Linked DNA regions of Homo sapiens: all the other regions are linked to region 2. The links are contacts of gene promoters, found by promoter capture Hi-C in blood cells and fetal thymus (Javierre and others, 2016). All regions are on one chromosome and are shown on one strand. The core of a region is centred on a gene start or on the middle of the fragment in contact, and the rest is flanking DNA. Distances in the headings are between cores, read along the strand shown. Region 1 overlaps PRPF38B (pre-mRNA processing factor 38B). Region 2 holds the start of TMEM167B (transmembrane protein 167B). Region 3 overlaps PSMA5 (proteasome 20S subunit alpha 5). Region 4 has its middle 2.3 kb from the start of GPR61.

The links. Contacts are between HindIII fragments. The CHiCAGO score rates a contact against its expected background, and 5 or more counts as called.
Region 1: a contact is called between a fragment that was not itself captured here and the fragment with the promoter of TMEM167B in region 2, in 2 of 17 cell types (naive CD8 T cells and non-activated CD4 T cells). The highest score is 6.1, in naive CD8 T cells.
Region 3: a contact is called between a fragment that was not itself captured here and the fragment with the promoter of TMEM167B in region 2, in 2 of 17 cell types (endothelial precursors and megakaryocytes). The highest score is 6.2, in endothelial precursors.
Region 4: a contact is called between a fragment that was not itself captured here and the fragment with the promoter of TMEM167B in region 2, in 1 of 17 cell types (endothelial precursors). The highest score is 5.5, in endothelial precursors.

Annotation. Positions count from the first base shown.
Region 1 is chr1:108,698,682-108,701,381 of GRCh38, forward strand. PRPF38B (pre-mRNA processing factor 38B) reads left to right here. Exons shown (of 6, transcript NM_018061.4): 5 at 1-146; 6 at 481-2,700. The coding sequence ends at 1,339. Among named protein-coding and RNA genes, the nearest start is that of PRPF38B, 7.7 kb to the left of the region's middle. The HindIII fragment of the contact is 1,854 bases long and covers 378-2,231 here.
Region 2 is chr1:109,089,373-109,092,072 of GRCh38, forward strand. It overlaps TMEM167B (transmembrane protein 167B), which reads left to right and starts at 1,392. Exons shown (of 3, transcript NM_020141.4): 1 at 1,392-1,510. The coding sequence starts at 1,501. RefSeq lists an enhancer at 1,026-1,225. The HindIII fragment of the contact is 3,338 bases long and covers 1-1,966 here.
Region 3 is chr1:109,400,668-109,403,367 of GRCh38, forward strand. It overlaps PSMA5 (proteasome 20S subunit alpha 5), which reads right to left. Exons shown (of 9, transcript NM_002790.4): 9 at 1-1,423. The coding sequence ends at 1,346. Among named protein-coding and RNA genes, the nearest start is that of SORT1, 4.1 kb to the left of the region's middle. The HindIII fragment of the contact is 3,839 bases long and covers 1-2,700 here.
Region 4 is chr1:109,536,180-109,538,879 of GRCh38, forward strand. No RefSeq gene overlaps it. Among named protein-coding and RNA genes, the nearest start is that of GPR61, 2.3 kb to the right of the region's middle. The HindIII fragment of the contact is 720 bases long and covers 911-1,630 here.

The DNA of each region.
Region 1 (2,700 bases), core at 55-2,554, 390 kb before region 2:
TGGTTTTCTACCTTGTTTCCAAGAATTCCAGTTCCAGTTCAAAAGAATATTGATCAACAGATTAAAACCCGACCTAGAAAAATCAAGAAAGATGGGAAGGAAGGTGCTGAGGAAATAGACAGACATGTTGAACGCAGACGTTCAAGGTAATGTCACTCTTGAATTATGCTTATTTTTCATATATGCTTTATACAAAATTAATGGTTCTGAGAAATAGCAAGTTCTTAGGAATTTGTTTTTACTGTTCATTTTATTAGTTTGTCACTTTTACCCCCCAAAGATTATTTTCTTCCTTTCAGGGCTTTTTCTATAAAATTATGCATCTGTAAATGAGAACAATAAAATTTTTTGCTTTAATGATTCTTGACATGGCCTTAAGCTTGAGGACATGAATAAATAATGCTGTTGAAAGTTTTACTGTGAAAAGAATTGCATATGTTTTATTCATTGAAATTTTCTTTCTCCCTCCGCCTTCCTTAGGTCTCCAAGGAGATCTCTGAGTCCACGGAGGTCCCCAAGAAGGTCAAGAAGTAGAAGTCATCATCGGGAGGGCCATGGGTCTTCTAGTTTTGACAGAGAATTAGAAAGAGAGAAAGAACGCCAGCGACTAGAGCGTGAAGCCAAAGAAAGGGAGAAAGAACGGCGAAGATCCCGAAGTATTGACCGGGGGTTAGAACGCAGGCGCAGCAGAAGTAGGGAAAGGCATAGAAGTCGCAGTCGAAGTCGTGATAGGAAAGGGGATAGAAGGGACAGGGATCGAGAAAGAGAGAAAGAAAATGAGAGAGGTAGAAGACGAGATCGTGACTATGATAAGGAAAGAGGAAATGAACGAGAAAAAGAGAGAGAGCGATCAAGAGAAAGGTCCAAGGAACAGAGAAGTAGGGGAGAGGTAGAAGAGAAGAAACATAAAGAAGACAAAGATGATAGGCGGCACAGAGATGACAAAAGAGATTCCAAGAAAGAGAAAAAACACAGTAGAAGCAGAAGCAGAGAAAGGAAACACAGAAGTAGGAGTCGAAGTAGAAATGCAGGGAAACGAAGTAGAAGTAGAAGCAAAGAGAAATCAAGTAAACATAAAAATGAAAGTAAAGAAAAATCAAATAAACGAAGTCGAAGTGGCAGTCAAGGAAGAACTGACAGTGTTGAAAAATCAAAAAAACGGGAACATAGTCCCAGCAAAGAAAAATCTAGAAAGCGTAGTAGAAGCAAAGAACGTTCCCACAAACGAGATCACAGTGATAGTAAGGACCAGTCAGACAAACATGATCGTCGAAGGAGCCAAAGTATAGAACAAGAGAGCCAAGAAAAACAGCATAAAAACAAAGATGAGACTGTGTGAAAATATTTTGTAAAAGTGGATCACATTGAATCCTATAAATGATTAAATCTGCTTTTTTCCCCCACGTTGAGATTGTGCAGTAGTTCGCACTCCTCAAGCTCTCCCTGTAGGCTGCATTTTCATTTCCTCTTTCGTGTAGGGAAGTGCCTTTGTAATTCCATTTATTGCATTGGTGTTTTCACCCAATTGTTAAGTTTGATACATGATGCACAGATTGTTCTTGCATTTTTATTGTTTGTTTTTGAAATGTACAGTCTGTACATATGTCCTGAAAATGTTTTAATTCCTTTGGCATGGTTGCCATGTTGGTTAAATTTGTATAAGGCAATAAACTGCCACTAATCTATTTTTGTTTTGTAGGTGTGGGATTATGGTTTGTGTACTGAAGTTAGCATGGCTGTGCTTTTCGTAATAGAATGCTAAAGACTTTGAGAATGGATCTTGGATGTCTATTATAGGAGAAGTATGTGCTGCCAATGTACAAGAAGGCAGCATTGTAGGATTAACATTCTTGTCTACTGTATATTATCTTGGAAGGCTCTTGTTAATATGTTACACTTAATATTCTCCACAGTTACCTTTAGAGAGAATTTATGAGAAGTTAGTTTCTGATGCAGAGGTTTTTAGGCTGTGATTTCATCAAAAGTCCTTTTAGCATTCTACCTCAAAGGGACACTTAGTATGCCTAAAATTTATTCACTTAGTTTTCCTTTTTTATTTGAAAAAATACATGACATGTAATCTTTTTTTCTTGAATTCTTTCTCAGATTTTAAAGTACTATATTAAAGAAAAAAATTAATGTCTAAAGCCTAGCATTCTTGCAGAACCCTATACTAACATGTAATGGGGAGAGGGTGGGGCAGATGAGTAGAGAAACAGATTCAAGCCTCAAGCTTCCAAAGCATTTTTATAAATGGAAAATCCTTAAATTATGAAACAGCTTGATATAGTGTCCTTTTTTTAAAATTCAGAACTTTTTTTATTGATAATGGAGATTGCTGTTTGAGTTTTTAAACTTAATCTAGAACAGAGGAGTATTAAAAGTAATGCTGTGCTGCATTATTTAAGACTATCAGCAAATTATTTGATAGATTGTTCTTACAACTTGTATTCTGATTACAGAACCATCATGAGTGTGGAATAAATACTGGATTAAATCCTTTATCCTGGGTCTTGGCTTTTCCCCCATTTGTTAAATTTTTTTAGCATATTTATATTGTGGAAATTGATGAAACGTCAGTAGAGTCACACTTTGTGTACAGGGATGTCTTAGTGCCCAGATGACAAGTGAATTTTGGAGAAATGCATAGACTGGGATTGGGCATGTGGTAATCAATAATCTTTATTAGAATACTTGATA
Region 2 (2,700 bases), core at 142-2,641:
CCAAGCAGGCTGCAGCCAGCAGATGGCACTGCAGCAGAAAGGGGCAGAGTCCCTTTAGGCCCTTGACAAGCACGGCGGATTAGTAACCGTATAATTTAACCCTCCAGTTAGCCTTGGAGGACTCGGTGTCGCACTTCCGCCCGAACTCTAATAAAGCGGGCCGAGTTGTGTGCAATTAAGGATTTCAGTATGCAAATCTGAATCTGTACTTTTGTCTCCTCCACCCCACCCCCATCATTAGACTGGCAATGTCTTTTGTCACGTTGTCAAAGTGTCCTCAGAGAAGCGGTGTCTAGATATCGCCGATTTCTGGTTAAAGTGGCTGAAGTGATCCCAGCATTAATTAAATGCAGGAGAATCGAGATTCTCCTGATAGTTTAAGGAAAAGAAAAATTCACACAAGCAAACGGGCAACCCTTTGAATGTTTTCCGACGACGTGGTGCTTTAGGATCTGAAAGATGCGACTTGGTTTTTGTTGTTGTTGTTGTTGTTGTTGTTGTTTTTGAGACGGAGTTTCCGCTCTTGTTGCCCAGGCTGGAGTGCAATGGCGCGATCTCGGCTCACCGCAACCTCCGCCTCCCAGGTTCAAGCGATTCTCCTGCCTCGGCCTCCCGAGTAGCTGGGATTACATTACAGGCATGAGCCACCATGCCCGGCTAATTTTGTATTTGTAGTAGAGACGGGGTTTCTCCATGTTGGTCAGGCTGGTCTCGAACTACGATCTCAGGTGATCCGCCTGCCTCGGCCTCCTAAAGTGCTTAGATTACAGGCATGAGCCACCGCGCCCGGCTAATTTTGTATGTTTAGTAGAGACGGGGTTTCTCCTTGTTGGTCAGGCTGGTCTCGAACTCCGACCTCAGGTGATCCGCCTGGCTCGGCCTCCCAAAGTGCTGGGATTACAGGCGTGAACCACCGCGCCCGGCCGCGACTTGTTTTTGTTACAAGGTTCCTCATTTCATTTGCAACGTTCAGACGCAGTCTGACTAGATTTCCATCCGGAGTAAGGAAGAGCAGCTCAAGGGCAGTCACGGAGGCCGCAGGTGCGGCTTCTTCACCCGCGGTGCTGGAGTTCTCTCAAGTGGAAGCCCAGGACGATGAAAACCTCATAGGTAGGCTGCTGCTTACACACAGCAGCCGCCACGGCGCAAAATAAACTACAAAACTACAAGCCTTTACCTTTTCAAACACACTGACGCGGGCCAGCCCCAGCCCTACGCCCGCAGGGGCACGCAGAAAAGACTTAGTTACCACGGCCAAGTACGAAGCCTTCGAGATAGCGTTCTTCTTACCCTACGTAAACACGCAGTTTCCCGAGCTCGACAATCGGCTAGCCACTCCTGATAGCGTTCGGCGCTCGCCTCTCGGCCCTTGCTCCTGCGTACTACGGCTTCTTCCAGTCACCTCGGCCCGGATCGGGAAGTGTCAAGCGGGCGCTCCCCCATCTCCGCCGCTATTACCACTGAACCCGGACCCCCTACCCAGGTCCAGGGCCAGCCGCCATGACGAACGGTGAGAACTGATGCCCTGAGCGGAGGGTGGGAGTGAAGGACGAAGGGAAAACGTGGCGGGCGGGGCCGGGACTGACGTGGCCGTTCTCCCCGCCCCCTCCCAGCCCGGCCCCCCTTGGCCTCTCGACGCCCCTAACTTCTGTACCCCTATACTCCTCTACGGGTTCCCCCTTCCCATATTCATCTAGGACCCCCAGTGCCTCTTATGCTCACACCTCGAGTTATCTATCCCTATGCTTTGCTTTCCCTTTTCTTTTTCTTAGTTCTTTCTGGCCCTTGGAGAGGTCAGTCCCAGAGGTACTACTGCTATTTAAACCCGGGGAAGAGAGAGGCTCCTCCTCCCAGCTCCCTGCGTTCTCATGCTTTCGGACCGTAGTTTTGTTGAGAGGGCCAATAAATGACATAGAATATCAAGTCCCACACTTTTGGGGTTGCTGGTGAATGTAGACCCCACAAAAGCTTCTTCTTACGGAAAAATACCGGAAAGATTTCTGATTTTAAAGTCCTGGCGGGGTGATCCCACGTGGAGACCCTGACTAGTGTTGCAAAGGGTGGATTTAGACACTGCCTCTTCTAGATGATGAGGCAGTTTATCTGACCTAATTTTCCAGGCCTCTTCAAACACTTTATGAATTCTGAATTCCAGAGGAGGACAGGAAGGAGGGCCTTCATGATTTTTAGTGTCAACCTTACAGGAAAGGAGAAGAGAAAGCCTTTTAGGCATTACGATGATTTGAGGGGCTCCGGAAAGCATTTCTCAAAAGTACTTTGTCCATAGACCTGGCACTGAAGACTCGAATTTAACCTCCTTGTGAATTTTGGCATTGTCTGCAGAAACTTATGAGAGAAAAGGGGTAGCACGTGAAGGTATAGTTCCTCAGAAAACCTTAGTGTATGTATTAATTTGCTGGACCCTTTCTTAGTGACAGCTTAGCTGTGAGACAGTTTTACTGGAGGAAGAGAGGTAGTGTGATCTAGAACTGGCAGACACTGGTTATATATAATATTCATTTGGAGCTTCCTGGGAAGTCAGAGGTCTCAGGATACTAGGCACAGTAAGAAAAGGGAATTTACCCAGAGGAAGACAGAATCTGAACCAGGAAGTAAGACAGCAGTTTGACACGGTAGTTGCTGAATAAATTTTAGTCATTCTTCCCCCATTTTGTGGTCCAATATCTTCTTGTTTTTTGC
Region 3 (2,700 bases), core at 31-2,530, 310 kb after region 2:
TTCCTATCATTGCAGTTTCCAAATGTATATAAACATGTTGTTTTTTGTTGAACTACAGTATGGATTTAGTATGAATTCAGCCTATCCAAATAGTCATAATTTATTAACATATAGTACAACTTCCTACACATCAATATACCCAGAGCCCAGCAAATAATTATGGGGTCCCTGTTAGTGAATTAAATCAATTCTGCATCATCCACATATGGATTAGCCATGTTGTGGACAGTGCAAGTACTTTTCAAATCTCCAGATTTCCCTATTACTCAAGAGCTGGTGATCTGAAACAAGAAAATTTGAGCTGTTCAAGTCCCAACAGCTTAATTTTGTGTGTCCATGGGCACACAGCATTAGATTCTTCATCTGTTAAGTAGTGATACTGATACCATCTTCCCGTGGTAATTTTTGAGGCTGAGATAGAATGATTCTTTAAACAATCTCCACCAATCATATGATGGCAGCTCTAATGGGGAAAGTTCATCATTCATTCCAAAGTCTAATGTAAACTGCTTCTGAATTTTACAATTCTCTTACTGATATAGAGATTTGTAATTGATTGCCAGTGAGGCCAAGGTCATTAATTTAATTCTTAGTCCTTCACTTCGTAAACAAGGAAATCTCTTTCCAAATTGTCTATCAAGACCCAAGAACTGGTACAACACTGTTGATGGCTGATTCCAACCCATCAATGTTTTGAGGAGGACCTCAAAACATGTTCTTCTGATAGTCAATTAGTAGCATCTCCTTATAAGAAAAGCAGCAAAAATACACGTTTGCTCCAGAAATTATAGGGCCGAAATGGATTTACAGTGCTGTTAACATCTATTAACCACTGGGAAGAGCTGGACTAGTTCATTTATCAACACCATGGGATTAATGGATATAGTTGATTCTGTTATAGAGCATCACTAAAACAGTTTTAGAACAGACATCTTCATAGAATAGGGATATTAATAACACTGTCCTTTTGGCCCACTAACATTTGCATTTCAAACAAAAGACTGTATTACAATGGCTGGGCACAGTGGCTCTCGCCTATAATCCTAGCACTTCAGGAGGCAGAGGCGGGAAGATCACTTGAACCCAGGAGTTTGAAACCAGCCTGGGCAATATAGTGAGACCTCATCTCTTAAAAAAAAAAAAAAAAAAAAGACTATTAGAAGAGAACAGTCTATTAACAAATATTTTAAAATTTTCTTTATTTCAGAACTGCCTTTATGTACAGACATCATTTAAAAAATGCACATACAATGGAGATTTTCCAAGGAACAGGAGCTGGAAATAAAATTTAAGGACATTATTAGAACTGAAATTGTCCCAGAGAAGTTCTGAGGATCAGGATTCCTTAAATGTCCTTGATAACCTCTTCAAGTTCTTCCTTTGTGAACATGTGGAAATTCTGGCCAGGCTGCACTGTGGCTAGCTGGAAAGAAAACAGAAGGGTTAATAAGCTGGGCTGAGTTACCCTGCTGATGGCCCTACCATGGTCAGGAGAAGCTGTGTTGGTGATGCAGCTATTCATTAGGAACTAAGGGATCTGCTGTCCCAAGGATATCCTTTCCAGGCAGCAGGTCCCTAAAATAGCTCTCTGGCTCCAAAATAAAAATGCTTATTGACCAAATTTTCTATTTTAAGGTTAACTCACCACATCATACTTAACCAAATGCCTGGCATCATTGTCACTTCTTGAAGTCACTTCAACAGGGATCACAAAAGCAGCAGCAAAGTACATGGAGTCAGTACTTTTTTCTGTTAAAGACTCCTTTAGAAATATATTTGAAGTATATTTAAATACTTAAAAGTTGAGCTTGTGTGTGTGACTTGAGGTTACTTGGCCACTCTGTGCCTCTATTTCTTCATCTGTACAATGAGGACAATAAGAATAGCTAATTCATAGAGTAGTTGTGAGGATTAAATGTTAATATATATAAAGTGCTTAGACCATTATTGCCTACAACAAATAATCATTAACTATTGTCAGGTATTTTCTCTAAAATTGTTTATGTGGCAAAACTTAACAAAAAAGTTTTTTTTGTTTGTTTTTGGTTTTGTTTTGAGATGGAGTTTCGCTCTTGTTGTTCAGGCTGGAGTGCAATGGCGTGATCTAGGCTCACCGCAACCTCCGCCTCCCGGGTTCAAGCGATTCTCCTGCCTCAGCCTCTCGAGTAGCTGGGATTACAGACATGCGCCACCACACCCGGCTAATTTTGTATTTTTAGTAGAGACGGCGATTCTCCATGTTGGTCAGGCTGGTCTCGAACTCCCAACCTCAGGTGATCTGCCCACCTCAGCTTCCCAAAGTGCTAGGATTACAGATGTGAGCTACTGCACCTGGCCTGTTACGTTTTTTTAAAAGAACTGGCCAAGAAAAGATTTCATTAACACTGGCATAGGAAACCAGTTGTGACTGCTGAAGATATCAGTAATAACTGGAAATCCAGATTATATTTACATTTAAAAGCAACAACAACAATAAAAAACTAGGGTCAGAAGATGGTTAATTTCAAATTTAACTATCATGACTAGGTTTTCCATTCTCTCTGTTGATCATGTCCCACAGTTTTGGGCAATACTGAGCAATAGGTGCCACTTCACATTTGCCTCAAAAGATTTGTGTTTTACATGTCATTTCCTCATAGTGTCTTTTTTCTTCAATTTTTAAAATTAAACACATGGCTGGAAACAGTAGCTCATGCTTGT
Region 4 (2,700 bases), core at 21-2,520, 450 kb after region 2:
TCACCTCTGCTTTCCTCTGCCTCCCTCCTCAGCCCCTTGGCCTGGCTCCCAGATGCTGGGCAGGGTGAGGTGAGTGCTTGGAAAGCAGGCATGGCTGGTGCTGGTACAGGGGGGCCCCAGGAAGCCAGGAACTGAGCTGTGGTGTGGAGGTCCCAGCTGTAAGCCTGCTGTCTGGTTGGCAGGGGCGGGGGGGTTGGGTGCCCATGCGGATGGAGGTGGATGCCAAGAGGACACAATGCCAGCAGCTTGGCGGGGGAGGCCTGGCTAGGGAGTAGGCGGCTGACAGGCAGTCTATGTTGTGGGATCTCAGGGACATCCCTGGTCGATGCTGGAATCCCAACGTTCTGCTTCTTCTCTTTGTTCCCTGTTAAATTGTTAATATTCCTGGGAAAGAACACATTAAGTTGCTATCAGTGCAAATGGGTTTATCAACCTCTTTCCTGAGAGCAGATTCTGACACAAGGCAGAGAAGGAGGGTAGTGGGTGCCACTGAGCAGGCAAGGGGCTCTAGGGAGGGGGCAGTGGCAACATAAGAAGTCTTCAATGTTTATTGAAGAAGTGGATGGATGAATGAAAGATAAACTTGATTGGCTTCCAGGTCTCATCCTGGGGCAGAAAAGGGTGGATGGGCAGACACGACCCTGTCACGAGGTGCTGGTGCACAAGGGTTGGGTAAAACTGTACCAGGGAGCAAGTCTAGGATGCAAAGATCAGTCCTCAGCAGCAAGGGCCCTGCCATGATACCAAGGGAAGGGGTGCCACTGTTGGAAACAGGGCCTGGTCCCCGTCCTGTAACAGGATTCCCTTCCTGGGTGTGTGCACAGCATAGTGAGCCATGGATCTCTTATGTGGTTTGGGGGATCACACTCAGTTTCTCCATCTTGGTCTTCTTGCCCCCTCCATTGTGCTAAGCTTTACTAAAAGGAGGGACTGGCAGGTGGGGTTGGGGGTGTGCTGTCAGTAGCTACTCCACACCCTGACTGAGATCATTTAATAAGATACAGCATAAGAAGTGCCTCCCAAAGTGGGCCTTCAAGAACTAGTAGCATTATTATTATTATTATTTATTATTATTATTTTTTGAGACAGAGTCTCACTCTTATTGCCCAGGCTGGAGTGCAATGGTGCGATCTCAGATCACTGCAACCTCCACCTCCTGGGTTCAAGCGATTCTCCTGCCTCAGCCTCCTGAGTAGCTGGGATTACAGGCATGTGTCACCATGCCTAGCTAATTTTTGTATTTTTAGTAGAGACGGGGTTTCGCCATGTTGGCCAGGCTGGTCTTGAACTCCTGATCTCAAATCATCTGCCCGCCTCAGCCTCCCAAAGTGCTGGAATTACAGGCGTGAGCCACTGTGCCCAGCCAGCATGATTATTATTATTATTTATTATTTGCCCACAGGCTAGAATAAGCAGTTCCCCCGCCGACCTCCTGAGCCAAGATGGTTCCAACAGCTGGAACATGCTGCCTCTTTGGTACTGCCTTTCCCAATAGCTCTCTGGGAGGGGCTTCAGGACACGGACGCCTTGCCTGCTGGCCACCACATGAGCTGTGATTACCTGTGCTAGCTCCCTGAAGCTGGAGAGGCAGGCTATGTTTGTTTTGCAGGCTCCCTACCACTATTAGATAAGCTTGGAAGTGAAGAATTTTGCCCATTTTCACAGACAGCCAACTCACAGGCCAAGGTCTTACCACCAACCAATAGAATGGCGCCAAACTGGAACCAAGGTTTTCTGACTCCAGTCTAGCGCTCTTTCTAAAATCCTGTTCCAGTGGGCCCAGGTCTGCTCCAGTTCTTATTGAATCCCTCGGAAGGGGCCATGCCAGTCTGGGCTGGGGCCCTGCAGGAAGAATGTGGGTGCTGAGCAGGGACAGGCTTTACCTAATCCCAGACAATCTGCTTGATGCCAAATTAATCTTGCCAACACAACAGCACAGGGCTTCCTAAAAATCACTTTGCTGTCTACAGGTTTTCAATTTGGTATTTCCATTTGAATTTCTTGTACGCAGGTATGCCTAATTTTGAGGTCTGTTTTAGGCTTTCTGGAAGGCAGTGACTACTTCTATGAAGATAGCTTTTAGGGCTGTAGTCCACAGTCTTGTGTCAGGCCACTGGAGAGGCCACGGAACGAAGGGAGAAGGAGGAGGAAATACTTGGACTTCAAACAGATCTGGGTTCAAATATCAGCTCTTGCACTTATTAGCTGTGTGATTTGGGGAAAGTCACTTCTCCTCCAGCACCCGGTTCCTCACTTATAAAATAGGGCAAGTCATGGCTGCCTCATAGATTGGTGTGGGGATCAAAGAAACTGTATGTAAAGGGCCTGGCACTCATAACAGCTCAAAAAGTGGTGGCTGGTGACAGCGGCACTTGCTGCATCGGCTCTTGGTTTGTCAGTGGCCTCTTTGTTTTTGACCTGGGGCTTGGGGCAGCCAACTTGTCCCAGTGAGGTCCTTGGGTAACTCATTGTTCTTATGGCTCTTTGGGTTGGGTCTGGTAAACAATTCCAGAATTCCCTTTTTCCTTCTTAGAGGCAGAAGGAGTCCCTAGATAGGCAAGTCTCAGGGAAGCAGGCTCTGGAGTAGGGGATCATGCCTGAATTCCCTGTTTAGACTCATGGCTCTGCCATGTGGAGCTATGTGGCTTTGAGCAATCTCTTTATCTCTCTGGGTCTCAGAAACATGGATACCTTGGCCTG